Regions from separate parts of the Homo sapiens genome. Here region 2 is linked to region 1. The links are contacts of gene promoters, found by promoter capture Hi-C in human tissues and cell types (Jung and others, 2019). All regions are on one chromosome and are shown on one strand. Each heading gives the region's core, a stretch centred on a gene start or on the middle of the fragment in contact. The rest is flanking DNA. Distances are from core to core; before and after follow the strand shown.

Region 1 (7,054 bases), core at 4,380-6,879:
GTAGAGTTGGGATTTTGCCACGTTGTCCAGGCTGGTCTCAAACTCCTGAGCTCAAGTGATCCACCCACCTTGGCCTCCCAAAATGCTGGGATTACAACTTCTCACCATTTTAAGTACTATCCAGCCTGGTCCAAACCACCACCCTCTCTCACCTGGGTCACTGCAGTACCATCCTGACTAATCTCCCTGTTTCCACCCTTATCCTCCAAGAGTCTACACTAAGCTCTAAAGCTCAAGGGATCCTTGGAAAACATAAATCAGCTAATAGCACCCTGTGCTCAGAATTCTCCAGTGGTGTCCCATTTTCCTCAAAATAAAGGCTAAAGTCTACACAAGGCCCTACAGGACCTTCTATTAGCTGGCTCCCTGCTACTTCTCTGATCTCTTCTCCCACGCTCACCCTGTCTCGTTCAGTTCCTTCTACATAAGCCACCTTGCTGTTCCTGGAACATGCCAGTTATCTGTTGCCTCGGGGCCTTTGCACCTGTTCTCCCTACCTGGAAATGTCTTTCCCCAGATAACTGTCTGGCTCACTCCTTCACTTCCTTCATGTCACCCTGACCACCTTGCATAAAATACCCACACTTCGTTTTACCCTACCCTCCCACTCCAACACAACAAGGCACCCCCCATCTTCCTTTCCCTGCTCAACATTCCTTAATCACCTGATATAAAACATACATTATTTACTTACATATTATTTGTCTCCCTCAACTAGAATGAATGCTTCATGAGATGGGTCTACTTCCTATAACATGCCTGGCACATAGAGACCACTCAATAAATATTTATTTAGTGAATGAATGATTATCTAAAGATACATACATCTCTAGATGGTCAACCACAGAAACACAGAAAGAGACAGTCACAAGAGCAAGTACAGGCTCTGCCCATTCGAGCAGAGTCCGGAAGAAAAGGAAACCTAGCCAACAGCACTTTAAATGTTCAGGTCCCAGTCAGGCGCGGTGGCTCACGCCTGTAATCCCAGCACTTTGGGAGGCCGAGGCGGGCAGATCATCTGAGGTCAGGAGTTTGAGACCAGCCTGACCAACATGGAGAAACCCCATCTCTACTAAAAATACAAAATTAGCCGGGCATGGTGGTGCACGCCTGTAGTCCCAGCTACTCAGGAGGCTGAGGCAGAAGAATCGCTTGAACCTGGGAGGCTGAGGTTGCAGTGAGCTGAGATCGCACCACTGCACTCAGCCTGGGCAACAAGAGTGAAACTCCATCTCAAAAATAAATAAATAAATATTCAGGTCCCTATGGTAGATTGATTGATTGATTGATTGCAAAATGTCTCAATTCTTCCCCTCCCTGTATCTGTACATTTTGCAATGTGACTATGTAGCTCCTCCTATCAAGAAGTGGAGTCTGTTTTCCTAACTTTCCACTCTGGGCTATCTTGTGCCTTAATTTTGTCATTAGACAAAGATAAAGTGACGGAGTGCCAGTTATCAGCTTAGGCCTCAAGAGGCCATACAAGCTTTTACTTTCTCTTAGCCTCCTGCCACTACCATGTGAACATGCCAGGCTAGCCTGCCAGAGGATGAGTGACCACATGGAGCAGAGCCAAGTCATCCAGCTGAGGCCATCCTAAAGCAGCCAGCCCTCAGACACTCCATCAGCAGACCAAAATCACATGAGCAAGCACAGCTGAAATCAAGCAAGCACAACTCAGAACTGCAGAACTACCCAGCCAACCAAGAGACATGTGAGAAAATAAGAAATGGCTGTTGTTTTAAGCCATTAAGTTTAGGGGTGGTTTGGTCTGTAGTCCCGTTGGCAAGGTTGGCCCTAAAGCATGTAATCAGTCCCTAGGGTACGCATCTAAGCTGCTTTGCTCTGAATAATGTGCTTCAGGAGATCTTCTCCTTGTGATTTGGCTGTTATGACAGGGGTCTGCAGGAAGAAGACCCACCAGCCAAGCCACACAGTGTCTCAACCACTGCAAATCAATAAGCTGGCATGCAGGTGAACAAGGTCACTGTGACGTGGCCCGGAAAGACAGATCAGGTTTCTGAGGCAGCAATACTAAAAGCCAGATATTGGATGGGGGAAATTCACAGAAGTAAATGTTGCCTTCTGAGGTGGACTCGGGGACACCCAGCCAGACTCTCTGACCTTGACCCAGCCTCACCTCATTCTATTTCACAGAAACTTTGACTAGGTTCTCAGGCATCCAGCCCCATTTCTGGCCATGGAACACACTGCAGTAGCCCTTCTGCACCAAGGACAGCTGAGTGATGAGGCTCTCAAATGCCCAAACCATGTTTTCTCTAGAGGAATAAAGTTTCCAAAGGGCAGAGCAGCAAACTGATCTTTATGTTAAGCCTATAAGATAGAGGCTTTAAATAAATTTGCCATATGATATTATGTAAATGCATTTCATGGTACACTGAAGGTCAGCATATTTCCAGATGATCCCAACACTTTTCCATGATCATAGAAACTCTTCTCATTCTCAAAGAAAAAAGAATATCTAGCAAGGACTGCTGGCCTGTTTGCTAAAGATGACCTTTTCTTTTAGTGTGGGGGAAAGGAAACAAAAAATCATAATACTAAGATTCAAAAGAAGCACAAACACAGTCCTCCATCCGGATGGGAGAAATCTGAATGTTGCGTTCCACAGTGTCCTTAATTCCTGTGCTTCCTGTTGCCTTGCAAAGACCTATGCTTTCTGCTTCCTGCATTCGTTTATGCTCTGAATGACCACAAGTACTTATATCTACCAACCAACCTTCTTCTAAACACAGAGTTTAGGATTTCATCCAGTTCCTTAAACAATAACTCAGCACATACATCATAGTGACAAATAGGAATCCTAAGAGGCAATATCTCAAATACCTGCCGTGTTGCCCCTATGACCTCAGGTCCTACTGCTGTCCCGGGTGTCTGACTCAACAGCAGCTTCCGTGGCCTCCTTTCTGGGTCTCTTGGGAACACACCTCTCTCCTATCTCAGGGTTTTGCAGGTGCTGCCTGCAACCTCTGGCTTCCTCCCTCACTTCCCCAGATGTCTGGTAAAATGTCATTTACCAGAATCCCTGGCTTCCTCCCTCACTTCCCCAGATGTCTGGTCAAATGTCATTTACCAAAAAGCCTTCCCTGGCCAAGCTGTATAAAAATAAATAACAAGCCCCACCCTGCCCTCTGGCAGCACTCCCCAGTCCTCTCAGCCAGCTTTATTTTTCTCCATTACAGTGTCTCATTAGCTGATACACTCTATACTTATTTATTTGTCCATCATCTTACACACACACACATACACACACTCTCTCATTAATTTAAGCTCCTTGAGAGAGGGCTTTTTTGGTTGTTTTTGTCTGTATTCTCCACACATAGAGCAATGGCTGACACATAGTAGGAACTTAATGAATGAACTGCCATTTCTTGAGCACCTACTTTGTGCCAGGCAAGTTATATATGATGATCGGGTAACAATGAGTAAATATTTTAAAGTATCTTTTCTTTAATTATTATAAGAATCCTATTACTGTCTCCATTTTACAGATCAGGAAACTAATGCTCAAAGAGGGGCTGAGTAACTTGCCCAAGACACTCACCTAGGTCTGTTTGAGCATCCACGCTCATGCTTCTTGTAGTGCACGCTGCTTTTCAAATACCTTAATGATGATGTAGGCGCATGTAACACACATCTCTGGCAAATACATAACACAAGAGCTTTTCATTCTATCATTTTTCGTCACCCATCACAGCTTTGGTCCAGGAAGAAACATCCTTGAGATTGGATTTTCATCTCCCAGAAAAGACTGGTAGTAACAGCTTTAGTTTTCCCTTATTCCACCCATTTAGGGAAAATCAAGGGAGAGTTTTCCTTTTGAACTGGGCTGGGACAAGAACAGATAGGTCGGGGACCCAGGGAGAAGCAGACAGAAGTTCATCTGCTCTGAAACTCCCTCAGAATTTTCCAGAGTCCCTGCCTTTGTGAAGTGTTGCTTCAAAACCTTCATAGTCCTGGAATTCAGGAAAAGCATTCATTAAAAAAGGAAAAAATTAAAGTCTGACTTGTATTGTGTGTGCTCCTCTCTGGGTGTCAGCCTGTGTCTACTGGGGTCTAGTCACATACTGCAAATACCAGCCCAGCCGAGACTTGTAAAGCTCTGCCCACCCAGTGGCAGTGATGGCAATGGTGTGGGAGAGTCATGTGGGTCACTCCCGGACCGAAGAACCAAGAGAGCGACCCAGTCCCTGCTGAAATCCACGCCATGCCTAATCCATGAGGGCTTCATTTTTATACTAATCACTGCCACTATCAATTTCCTCCTCCTCTCTGCTCTCACTGCTCTTTTCCAACACCATCATGAACTTATCCACCTCCTGATTACGAGTGCTTCTCCCCCTACCAGGTGTGAACCTCAGGGAGCCAGGACATTGTTATCATCATCTCTGCATCCCCAAGGACTAATCCCATCTCTGACAAATACTAAGTGCTCAGTAAGTATTTGCTGACTCAAGAAAGATGCAGAACGAGCCTGTACCTACTGCACCAACTGGAACAAGCAGAACAAGTCACCTCTTCTGGAAAGGGCAGGAAGCAGAAACACAGAGGAGACCAGCATAGACCAGAACCACCGCTGAGCCGACTACAGTGCCCAGTCCTCCCTCATGCACCCTCCTTACCCCTCACCTGCCACTCTCTGAGCCCCAAAGCCACCCACATTCACCTCCCCAAGGGCTAGAAAGCCAGCAAGCATTCCCCCAGCGTCCCACCCCACCCCACTGGGGCTGCTCTTATCAGAGCCCAAGACACCAACGTTAAGTTACCCTTAAACGGAGTAATTTGCATCTGTAATTTCCGGATAAAGGAGTGTATTTCATCAGCCCTGCTGAACCCTGGACAGCAGAGATTTCTACCACCCGTCTGCCGAAGACACAGCGGTGCCTTGCTCCTCCCTGGCTAAACGCATTTGCTAGCCCATCCCTGCAAAACAAGTCATTTTCTTTCCCTTGCGCTAAAACCCGTCCATAAACAAATCCTTCTGTGTCCCTAAGAAACGGCTCCCACGCCCACGGAGGGCGCCCTGCACATACAGAAATACACACTCACAAACCCCAAGAGCCACCAGGTGTAAGCACGTTTGAATTCTGTTCTTTAAGAACAAGCCAACAACAATAACAAAATCTATCTACTAGAATGTAACTGAAACTAAAAGCAGCGGCTAGGAAGCTTATGGAAACGGAGCTATAAATGCCAGCAGCCTGACATTTATAAGTTGCAAAACTACTTATGGCGCTAATAGTTCAAACAGGGTTTTAAAACAGCCCTTGGGGAGGCCGCTTTCAAAGAAGCGCACAGCTCCAGGCAGCGGGCAAGTCCTTGCTTTTCTGCGCCGGTTTTTCAAGACTCTCCGATCTTTTGTGCCATTTACTATGAACAGCACTCAGCTGTGCGAGCGTGTATATTTCAGCCCAGGCAGGCGAGTCTGGGAGCCCTGGCGCACGCGGGGTCCGCGCCCCGGCTGGGTCGGTTGCACCGCAGCGAGCAACGCAGTCCCCTACCTGGGTGGCAAATCCGCTGGCGGCCGCCTCCGGATGCAGGCAGAGCAGCGTCCGCCCCGGCAGCCCCGCGTGCAGCTCCGGCTAACGCGGAGCTGGGCGATCCGGGCGGAGGCAGGCGCCGGCGGGTGTCACACCTGCATCACCGCGCCCACGCCGCCCCCGCCAGCCGCCCAGGCGCAGCGCGCAGCGCGCCCCCGCGCTACAGAGCACGCGGGGCGGGAGGCTCCTGGGTCCTCTACTCAGCGGGATCAGATCCTAACCCGCTTTCTTCCCGGCCCGGGCATTAAAAGTATTCGCTGCGGGCAGCTCTGCTTCTAAATCTCCTTCTGATCGAAGGCTGGGTGTGGAGATAGCTCAGAGGGAAGGAGGACCAGTGAGGCCGCAAGGTCTCCGGATTTGCAGACCAATAAATATTAAACTTCTTATTCCTCGAGTTTTGTAACCAGCTGATCATGGGCGTCGTCTCGCTGTCTCCACCCCGCCTAGGGCGAGGGGGCGCTGTGGACTCCACATGCCCTTCCACCCACTCCGAACTAGGATGCGTCAGAGGACTAGACGCAAGTTCCCGGGAAGGGGAATCCTCTGATCACGCCGCCCCCAAAGTATCGTCGATCATGGTGCTGTTCGACTGCTTTGTTCTCGTTTGCCTCATCAGGAACTGAAGAGAACCTACCCGGCCAGCGCGGGGAGGAGGAAAGCCTGCAAGGCTTGGTGCATTCAAACAAGCCCTCCACCTCTGTCTCCCTCCTTCCAAACCACCACCCACTAACTCCACTGACGAGAGTTCAGCAAACTAAACTGCCAAGGCTCAGCACCGAAAGACTCTTTAGGAGCATAGGGCTCCTTCTAGGAGCAAGTAAGGAGCAAGGAAAGGACACTGGAAATTCGGATGCGGACTCAAACAGCACAACACTGCAGGTGCCTGGCCCCTCTAGGATCCGAAGCTACGTTCCTTTCCTAACAGGGCTAAAATGAAGGCCAGTTCTGGAAGAGCCTTCCCCCTCTTCTCCATGGAGCACATCCTCCATCATGAGGTCTTCAGCTGGACTCCCCACTCTCGCTGCCGTCAATGACCTGCGCTCCAGCTCCCTGCCTCTTCCCTGGCTGGGGCCTCCGCCGACTCGCACCTGGACCACCCGCAAGGACTTCAACTTCTCAGGCTCCTGGAGTCATTTCTCAACATGTAAATCTGATCTTGACTCTTTCCTACCTAAAACCATGTGATGGCTTCCCAGTGTCCTTGAAAAATCCGAAACATTTTTTTTTTTTTTTTTTTGAGACAGGGTCTGGCTCTGTTGCCCAAGCTGTGGTGCAGTGGCTGGATCACAGCCTCAACCTCCGCAGCTCAAGCAATCCTCCTGCCTCAGCCTCTCAAGTAGCTGGGACTACAGGCATGCGCCACCACTCCTGGCCAATTGTTAAACGTTTTGTAGAGTAGAAGTCTCACTCTGTTCTCCAGGCTGGTCTGGAACTCCTGAGCTCAAGTGATCCGCCTGCCTCAGCCTCCCAAGCTGGGATGCAGGCTCGCGCTA
Region 2 (7,684 bases), core at 3,757-6,256, 150 kb before region 1:
GTAGAAGTGAAAAACAGCAATTGCCAGCAAGGCTGGCTATGTTATTACCATCCAAGAAGGACCTTTCTTCAAGCTACAACCAATGTCTAGCCTTAAGGAAATGTAGTATATTTGTATATGGTGTGAGATAAGGGTCCAGTTTCATTCTTCTGCATGTAATATCCAGTTTTCTCAACGCAATTTATTGAAGAGACTGTTTTTCCCCCTATGGTGTGTTCTTGGCACTTTTGTTGGAAATCAATTGGCCATAAATGTGTGAATTTATTTCTAAGCTCTCTATTCTGTTCCATTGGTCTATATGTCTGTGTTTATGCCACTACCATTGTTTTAAATTACTACAGTTTTGTAGTATATTTGAAAGCAAGTAGTGTGGTGCTATCAGCTTTGTTCTTTTGGCTCGACTGCTTTGCCTATCCAAATCTTTTGTGGTTCTATATGAATTTTAGGATGTTTTTCCTATTTCTATGAAAAATGCCATTGGAAGTTTGATAGGGACGGCATTGAATCTGTAGGTTACTTTGGGCAGTATAGATACTTTAACAATATTAATTCTTTCTATTCATAAACATGGGATATCTTTCCATCTATTTGTGTCTTCTTCCATTTCTTCATCAATGTCTTATAGTTTTCAGTATAAAGACCTTTCATTTCTTTGATTAAATTCATTCCTAAGTATGTTTTAATGTTATTGTAAATGAGATTGTTTCCTAGATTTTGTTTTCAGATACTTCATTGTTAGCATATAGAAACATTACTATTTTTATGTTGGTTTCTTATTTTACACCTTTACTGAATTTGTTTATTTGTTCTAACAATTTTTTGGTGGAGTCTTTAGGGTTTTCTATGTATAAGATGCCATCTGCAGAAACCATTTTACTTCTTCATTTCTGATTTGGATGACTTTTATTTCTTTTTCTTGCCTAATTGCTCTATGTTGAATAGAAGTGGCAAGAGTGGGCATTCTTGTCTTGTTGCTGATATTAGGGGTAAACCTTTCAGCTTTTCATTATTGATTATGATTGTCAGTTGTGGGCTTGCCATATGTGGCCTTCTATACCTAATTTGTTGAGAATTTTTATCACGAAAGGATGCTGAATTTTGTCAAATGCTTTTTCTGCATCTATTAAGATGATCATATGATTTTTATCCATTATTATGTTAATGTGGTGTATCACATTTATTGATTTGCATATGTTTAAACATCCATTCATGCCAAGGACGAATCTCACTTGATCATGGTGTATGATCCTTTTAATGTGCTGTCGAATTTAATTTGCTAGTATTTTGTAGAAGATTATTGCATCTGTGTCCATCAGGAATATTGACCTGTAATTTTCTTTCCTTGTAGTGTTCTTCTCTGGCTTTGGTATCAGAGTAATGCTGGATTTGTAAAATGAGTTTGTAAATATTCCTTCACCTTCAATTTTCTGGAAGAGTTTGAGAAAGGTTGGCATTACTTATTCTTTAAATGTGTGGTAGAATTCAACAGTGAAGCCAGCAGGTCCTAGGCTTTTCTTCGTCGAGAGGTTTTTGGTTACTAATTCAATCTCTTTAGTCATTAATGGTTTGTTAAGATTTTCTATTTCTTCATAATTGAGTGTTGGCGGATTGCATGTTTCTAGGAATGTATGCATTTCTTCCAGATTACACAACTGGTTGTGTGCAATTTTTCATAATAATCTCCTGTGATCCTTCATATTTCTGTGGTATCAGTTGTAATGCCTTCTCTTTCATTTCATTTCTAATTTTATTTGAGCCTTCTTTTTTCCTTAGTCTAGCTAAAAGTCTGTCAGTTTTGTTTATCTTTTCAAAAAACCAACTCGATCCTTTAACTATTACACTTTGCTGCTCTTTACAGATAAGCATTTGTTAGATTCCTTCTCTTTACATTAGTTCATTCTTTCTTCATCTGCTCACCCCCAGTATTGCTTGTCAAGTGAGGAATGGTTCCATCCTTTCAAGGAGATAAACAATAAAATGTATGATTATCTATGAGTGAGAAAAAAGGTGCTCAATAAAGGTATCTGTCAGGTATTATTAAAACCCAGAAGAAGAGCAAACCTTGGATATAATTCACTCAATGTGGGAAGGCTTCCAAGAGAAAGACATTGAGCTGTTCTTGAAAGACAAACAGAATTTAGTCTGATTTCCATTTGGTGACTGAGGCAAAAAGAAAGTCTGATATGTTCGGGCAACTTCTTGTAAGTAGCCTAGCGTGAGTAGAGCATAGTTCATGTAGGGGAATCTGGTGAGGGTTCAGGCTAGAAGGTAGGACAGAAGCCAGATCATAAACATGTGTGTGTGTGTGTGTGTGTGTGTGTGTGTGTGTGTGTGAAAACGTAGATGTATGGATGCATGCACGTGTGATTGTGTGTGTGCACATGGGTGTTTGCATGTATGTGTATGGGCCCATAAACTGAAAGCAGGGAGAGGGAAAAGAGACTTAGAGGAGTGCTCCAGAGATTTGCTGAGAACTAGTCTCCACACCCCACACCCTGAGTCCACCCTAGAGAAAAACACTAGCATCCAATAAAAGTCTATTTTTTCTTTTACTTCAATAAAGCTGTCTTCAGCACTTCTCAAACTTTACTGTGCACATAAATCACCTGGGGATCTTGTTAAAATCATATACTGATCCAGCAGGCCTGAGATGGGCCCTGAGATTCTGCATCTCTAACAAGCTGCCAGCTGAGGCCAGTGCTGCTGGTCTGGGGACCACACTTTGAGTAGCAAGAGGCTAGAGCACATCTGTCCTCCTGTAAACAGTAAATAATGATGAGAATCCAGGCCTTGGAACCCAAAGATCTCATTCACTAGTTGTATGATTTGGGAGCAAAACCTCTCACTTTCTGAGGGTATTAATCACCTCATTTATAAACCGATTACTGAACTAGAGATGATCTCCAAGTTGCCTTCCCATTCATTAATTTTAAATTAATTTTTTAAAAATGTAAATAATGAAAGATGAAGTACTGTGGATTTCCAAGGAAGAAGATATGCAGATTAAAAACATAAACTCAGACACAAATGTTTGATTAAACTACTTAAGGCCATACAAGGCATTTTTTTGTTTGTTTGTTTTTTGTTTTTTAGATGCTCTGTCACCCAGGCTGGAGTGTAGTGGCACGATCTCGGCTCACTGCAAGCTCCGCCTCCCGGGTTCACGCCATCCTCCTGCCTCAGCCTCCCTAGTAGCTGGGACTACAGGCGCCCACCACCACGCCCGGCTAATTTTTTGTATTTTTAGTAGAGACGGGGTTTCACCGTGTTAGCCAGGATGGTCTTGATCTCCTGACCTCGTGATCCGCCCACCTCGGCCTCCCAAAGTGCTGGGATTACAGGCGTGACAAGGATCTTTATGACATTGTACACATGGATCAAAATATCACAGGTGCTCCAAAATATGTACGACTATGATAAATGACTTTAAAAAGAATCGAATAATAATAATAAAGATATCCTTAACAAAAAAGTGGCTTCTAACCTACCAGTTTGCAATCTTAGCAATGAACACTGTGCAGTTATGAAATTATTGTCCCTCAGCTCCAAAGCCACCCTCCTAGACCTTACTTGGTCCACAAATCCCGGTCAGTTTTGCCAGCCACTCTCTGCTAGGCTCTGCCAATAGAGGGCGCTAGAGGGAGGCTTCAGGGCTGGGGAAAGAAGAAAGCACCTGTCCTTTCTGTTCCCTGTAGGTTTCAGCCTGACTGCAGCAATTCCTTTCTAGATAGCAGCTGCATCCAATTAGCAGAGGCCACATTGCACTTCATTCTCCTCTCCAACACCAGCAACTGCCAGCCAGGGCCTCTCTTAAGAGAGCTGAGTTGCAGCTTTATGGAACCCCTTTTCAAGATTCTAAGTTATAATCATTCCAATCTCTTTCCTTTATTCTCCAAGCCCTAGGGGAGGTAGCTTCTCCCTGCATTTGCTACCTCAGTGAAACTTTTCAAAAGCGTTTCACCCATCCTGTTAATAATTTTTACATTAAAATCTCTCTTTTCAAGTAACTGGTATGATTTGTCTCCTGACTATCCCATGACTGATCTAGACACCTAGACAAATTGAAAAACTTTACAAGTTAGATGTTGAATCCAACCCCTTAGTTTTACCAGACGAGGAGGCTGAGCCCCAGAAAGGGTCAATAACTTGCCCAGAACCTCAATGCTGGCCGAGGACCTGCTGGCACTGCATTTCTGGTCTCCTGGCTCCAGGCCTTGTGCTTTCACTACTAAACCTCACTGTCCAAGGTCATGGAGGTACCAGAGAGAATAAGAAGAGCTTCTCAAATGCTGTCTTTGAAGTCTAGGAAAAGGAAGAATGAAGGAAAAATGAGCCTATCACCAGGGAAGGGAAATACAAAATTAACAATGTCTCTGGAATGGCTATGTTATTAGACTCATTTAAAATCTGTCTTTAGCAAAAGAAATTTAAAAAATACATTTGGAAAATTAGAGTGCAGTGGAGTTATCAAAAATTACCTTAGTGTGAAGCAGATAAGGAACTAGTTAGAAAGCCAGAAATTCAATCTTCCCTCAATTTCACTCAACAAGCTCGGTGGCATATTAGGGAAATGATCCCTTAATATACTGAGATTTTTGAGGAAATTGAAAACCAGGATTGCTACTTGCAGAGCAAAGGAGGAAGAGGAGAAGAAGGAGGAGGAGGAGGAGGAGGAGGAGGAGGAGGAGGTTGAAAGGAGGAGCGATGTGGTGGAGTGGAAAAGACTTTTAATTGGTGGTAACACAACAAAGGAAATAGAATACCCCTCCTTGGAAGAGGGAGGAGCCTGCAGTGACAGGCACCATGCAAGAAAGAGCCCAGTTCTGAGACTGAGACATCTGGGCCATGGTCCTGGCTCCATGACTACCACAGCATGCCTGTGGGCAGCCCATTCAGCCTCTCTGACCACTATTACATCTTTGTAAAATTCGGTGCCCATCTTTGCAGAGTTGTTAGGATTATATAGGGGAGTGGATTTAAAGTATCTAGCAAAATGCCTGGCACCAAAGTAAATGCACATTTAATAAAAGCTGCTATTGATGTTATTAGCAGTACAGCTTAAAATTGTCTAGGACCTTGGAAAGCCACAGGATTAGAAAAATAAAAATAAGATGGTGATATTTTAAAAACAAGCCAATCATATACTAAAGGAATATGAGGAAAAAGGATAGAGAATAGCATAGGAAACTTATTTTTAGTAGTATGCCCTTTAAATAGACCTCCCTCTCTCCTTACCTGGAGAAGAAGCCAGCTTCCAATAAAAAGCTTTTTTTGAAAAATATTTTCGAAGTTTCCTCTAACAAGACTTTGAAGGGGGGATTTTTTTTTTTTTTTTTTGCTAACTCATATTTCTTCAGTTCCCACATTAAATGTCATCTCCTTAGAAAGGCATCCCTGATGTTCCAAACTAAGGCTCCACCAACTTTTTCTATAAAGGGACAGAGCATAGATATTTTACTTGTAAAATGTACTTTGCCAATCTTCTATGGTCTCTGTCACATCATATTATTATTCCTAAATTTACAACCCTTTAAAAATGTTAAAAAAAAAATTGGTCATAGGTTTGTAGACCACAGTTTGTTGGTTCCTGTTCCAAATTTCAGTCGTCCCTGATAGTCTTTTGGCAGCATACTATTGCTTTTCCTTTGTATCACATGTCTCTATTTGATGTTATATATTTATTTGTTTGATATTTGCCAAACTCCTGTGACTGTAAACTCCTGGACGAAGGGACCATGTTGATTTTGCTTGAGGAGAGTTCGACACTGTGTCTCTAGCACAGAGATGTACACATAGTAGGTACTCCATTAATATTTGTTCAATAAATAAAACAATCTAAAAGTAATTCCTATTCACTGTAAGAAAATCTGAGGAATACCCCCCAAAATGTATAAAAGGTAAAGCAATAATCTATTCATCATACCACCACTCAGAGACAGCTGTTGTCAGCAGGCTTTATTTTTGTATTTGTATTGGTACGTGTATAACTACATACTGTATTTACACGATAGAAATCTTTCTGTCTCGAAAGCTTCATAGTCTAGCTTTTCACTTAATAAACAACTCAGCAAAGAATATTTTATGCATATGTCTTTGTTGGTGTTTCTAGTTATTTGCTCAGAATAGATTCCAAGAAATCGAATCATGAGATCGAAGGAGATCAACAAGTTTGTGGCTCTTGAGACACAATGCCAAATATCCTTCTAGAGAGCTGGCAGATATCAGAAACCTCTTCTCAGCTTTAGAGATGCTTTTCACACAGACAGAAGATTTCCTCTCCACACCAGAGGCAGCAGGATAAGATGTACCATCAGACCGCACTGGCTTACCGTGGTGACAAGAAAGAAGAGGCCCTGACTGGGTGAGCTTCTTTATTTAGCAATTAACCAAAGACAAATAAACCACTTCTAACCTTTTTCTTGCTTGAATATGTAGAAATTAAATGCATTCATTATCCTGAGAGGATTATGAGCTTCTTTTTCCTGCAGTGACTCAAATATTTATTTGACTGTATGCATATGCTTTGCAGGAATAAAAATCAGCATCTTCCAACTAAACCATTTCCATTGCATCTATAATAACATCTCTAAAAAGTAATTCCTGTCATTTCCATTCCATTTATTTATTACTCAACCAAATATACCCCCCTTGAAGGGTAGTATTCTCTTGGACTAGGGCATGGGATTCACAGTTCCTCAAAGTGGTAAATGTGATAAATGTTTTAACATATATGGGAATCCCACAAAGAACTCTCACTTTGGTATTAAATCATGGAGGAACATCAGGGTATCCATCTGCACACCCTATGAAATAAGATGCATTGGGTAAGTCAGCCAGGTGCTTTGTTTATGTGGCATCTGGACGCTTGGAAACTTCTGGATGAGTAAACACTTTCTTTTGGGTCGAAAAGGTTTGGCTTTAACATGTCGTCTAGTGGAAACCAATCTAGAATCACCATGTTCGACTTTTCTAGTCTTTTATGGGTCCAGTAAACTCAAGTGAAGGAATCTTCAGAAGTGGGTTAACTTGTCCATTCTCTTGGTAGTTGGAATTCTTTCCTAAATGTCACATAAGATATTTGGATACAAATGTGTAGAGGAGAAATGAAGGGACAAAAGAATTAACATTTGTTGATCTCCTGCCATATGTAAGACACTGTGATAGATCACATGTATAATAATTTCAATTTGTCATTCCAACCTGGTGAGGGAGGTATTAATGGCTTCATTTAACAGATGAGGAAACTGAGGTTAAGAGATTTCCTCTCTGACCACAATTATTAAAGTATAAGTAAACTTTCCCAATCTCTGATGAAAGAACCTAGGATTATAGTTGAGTGAGTCACCAATGCCCCAAATTATGACATAGCCCATGAAGAAAGATACACTAATACTCTTCAAGGACAGCAGGGTTGGGGTGAGGCATTTGTCACTCTGCCTGAGGATGCAACATTCTCACTTGCCCTGGCCCCTCAGCTCAGGGCGAGCCACAGCACAGCAGAAGAGCAGAACCGCCCCTCCTGGAAGTTCTAGGTTCTGAATGTGTCCAATAGGCCCAGAGGTGAGGGTCTACAGGCAGATCAGGGAGTCTGAGAGACAGAAGCCCCTTGCTTCAGCAGCATTGGATTTAAGGACAGAGCCTTAAATCAGGAAGAAGTTCTCTCTCCAACCATATACAGGGGAAA

What was found. The method cuts DNA at HindIII sites, captures the fragments that hold promoters and counts their contacts. A contact is called where the count stands out against the background at its distance.
Region 2: a contact is called between a fragment that was not itself captured here and the fragment with the promoter of SV2B in region 1, in 2 of the 25 tissues and cell types used here (dorsolateral prefrontal cortex and heart right ventricle).

The regions. Positions count from the first base shown.
Region 1 is chr15:91,098,832-91,105,885 of GRCh38, reverse strand. SV2B (synaptic vesicle glycoprotein 2B) reads right to left here and starts at 5,629. Exons shown (of 13, transcript NM_001323032.3): 1 at 5,523-5,629. RefSeq lists a silencer at 5,403-5,802 and an enhancer at 5,852-6,393. The HindIII fragment of the contact is 7,105 bases long and covers 3,339-7,054 here.
Region 2 is chr15:91,243,719-91,251,402 of GRCh38, reverse strand. The region is part of intron 2 of SV2B (synaptic vesicle glycoprotein 2B); the gene reads right to left. It overlaps LOC105370972 (a long non-coding RNA gene), which reads left to right and starts at 5,326. Exons shown (of 3, transcript XR_007064760.1): 1 at 5,326-7,684. The HindIII fragment of the contact is 6,797 bases long and covers 1,608-7,684 here.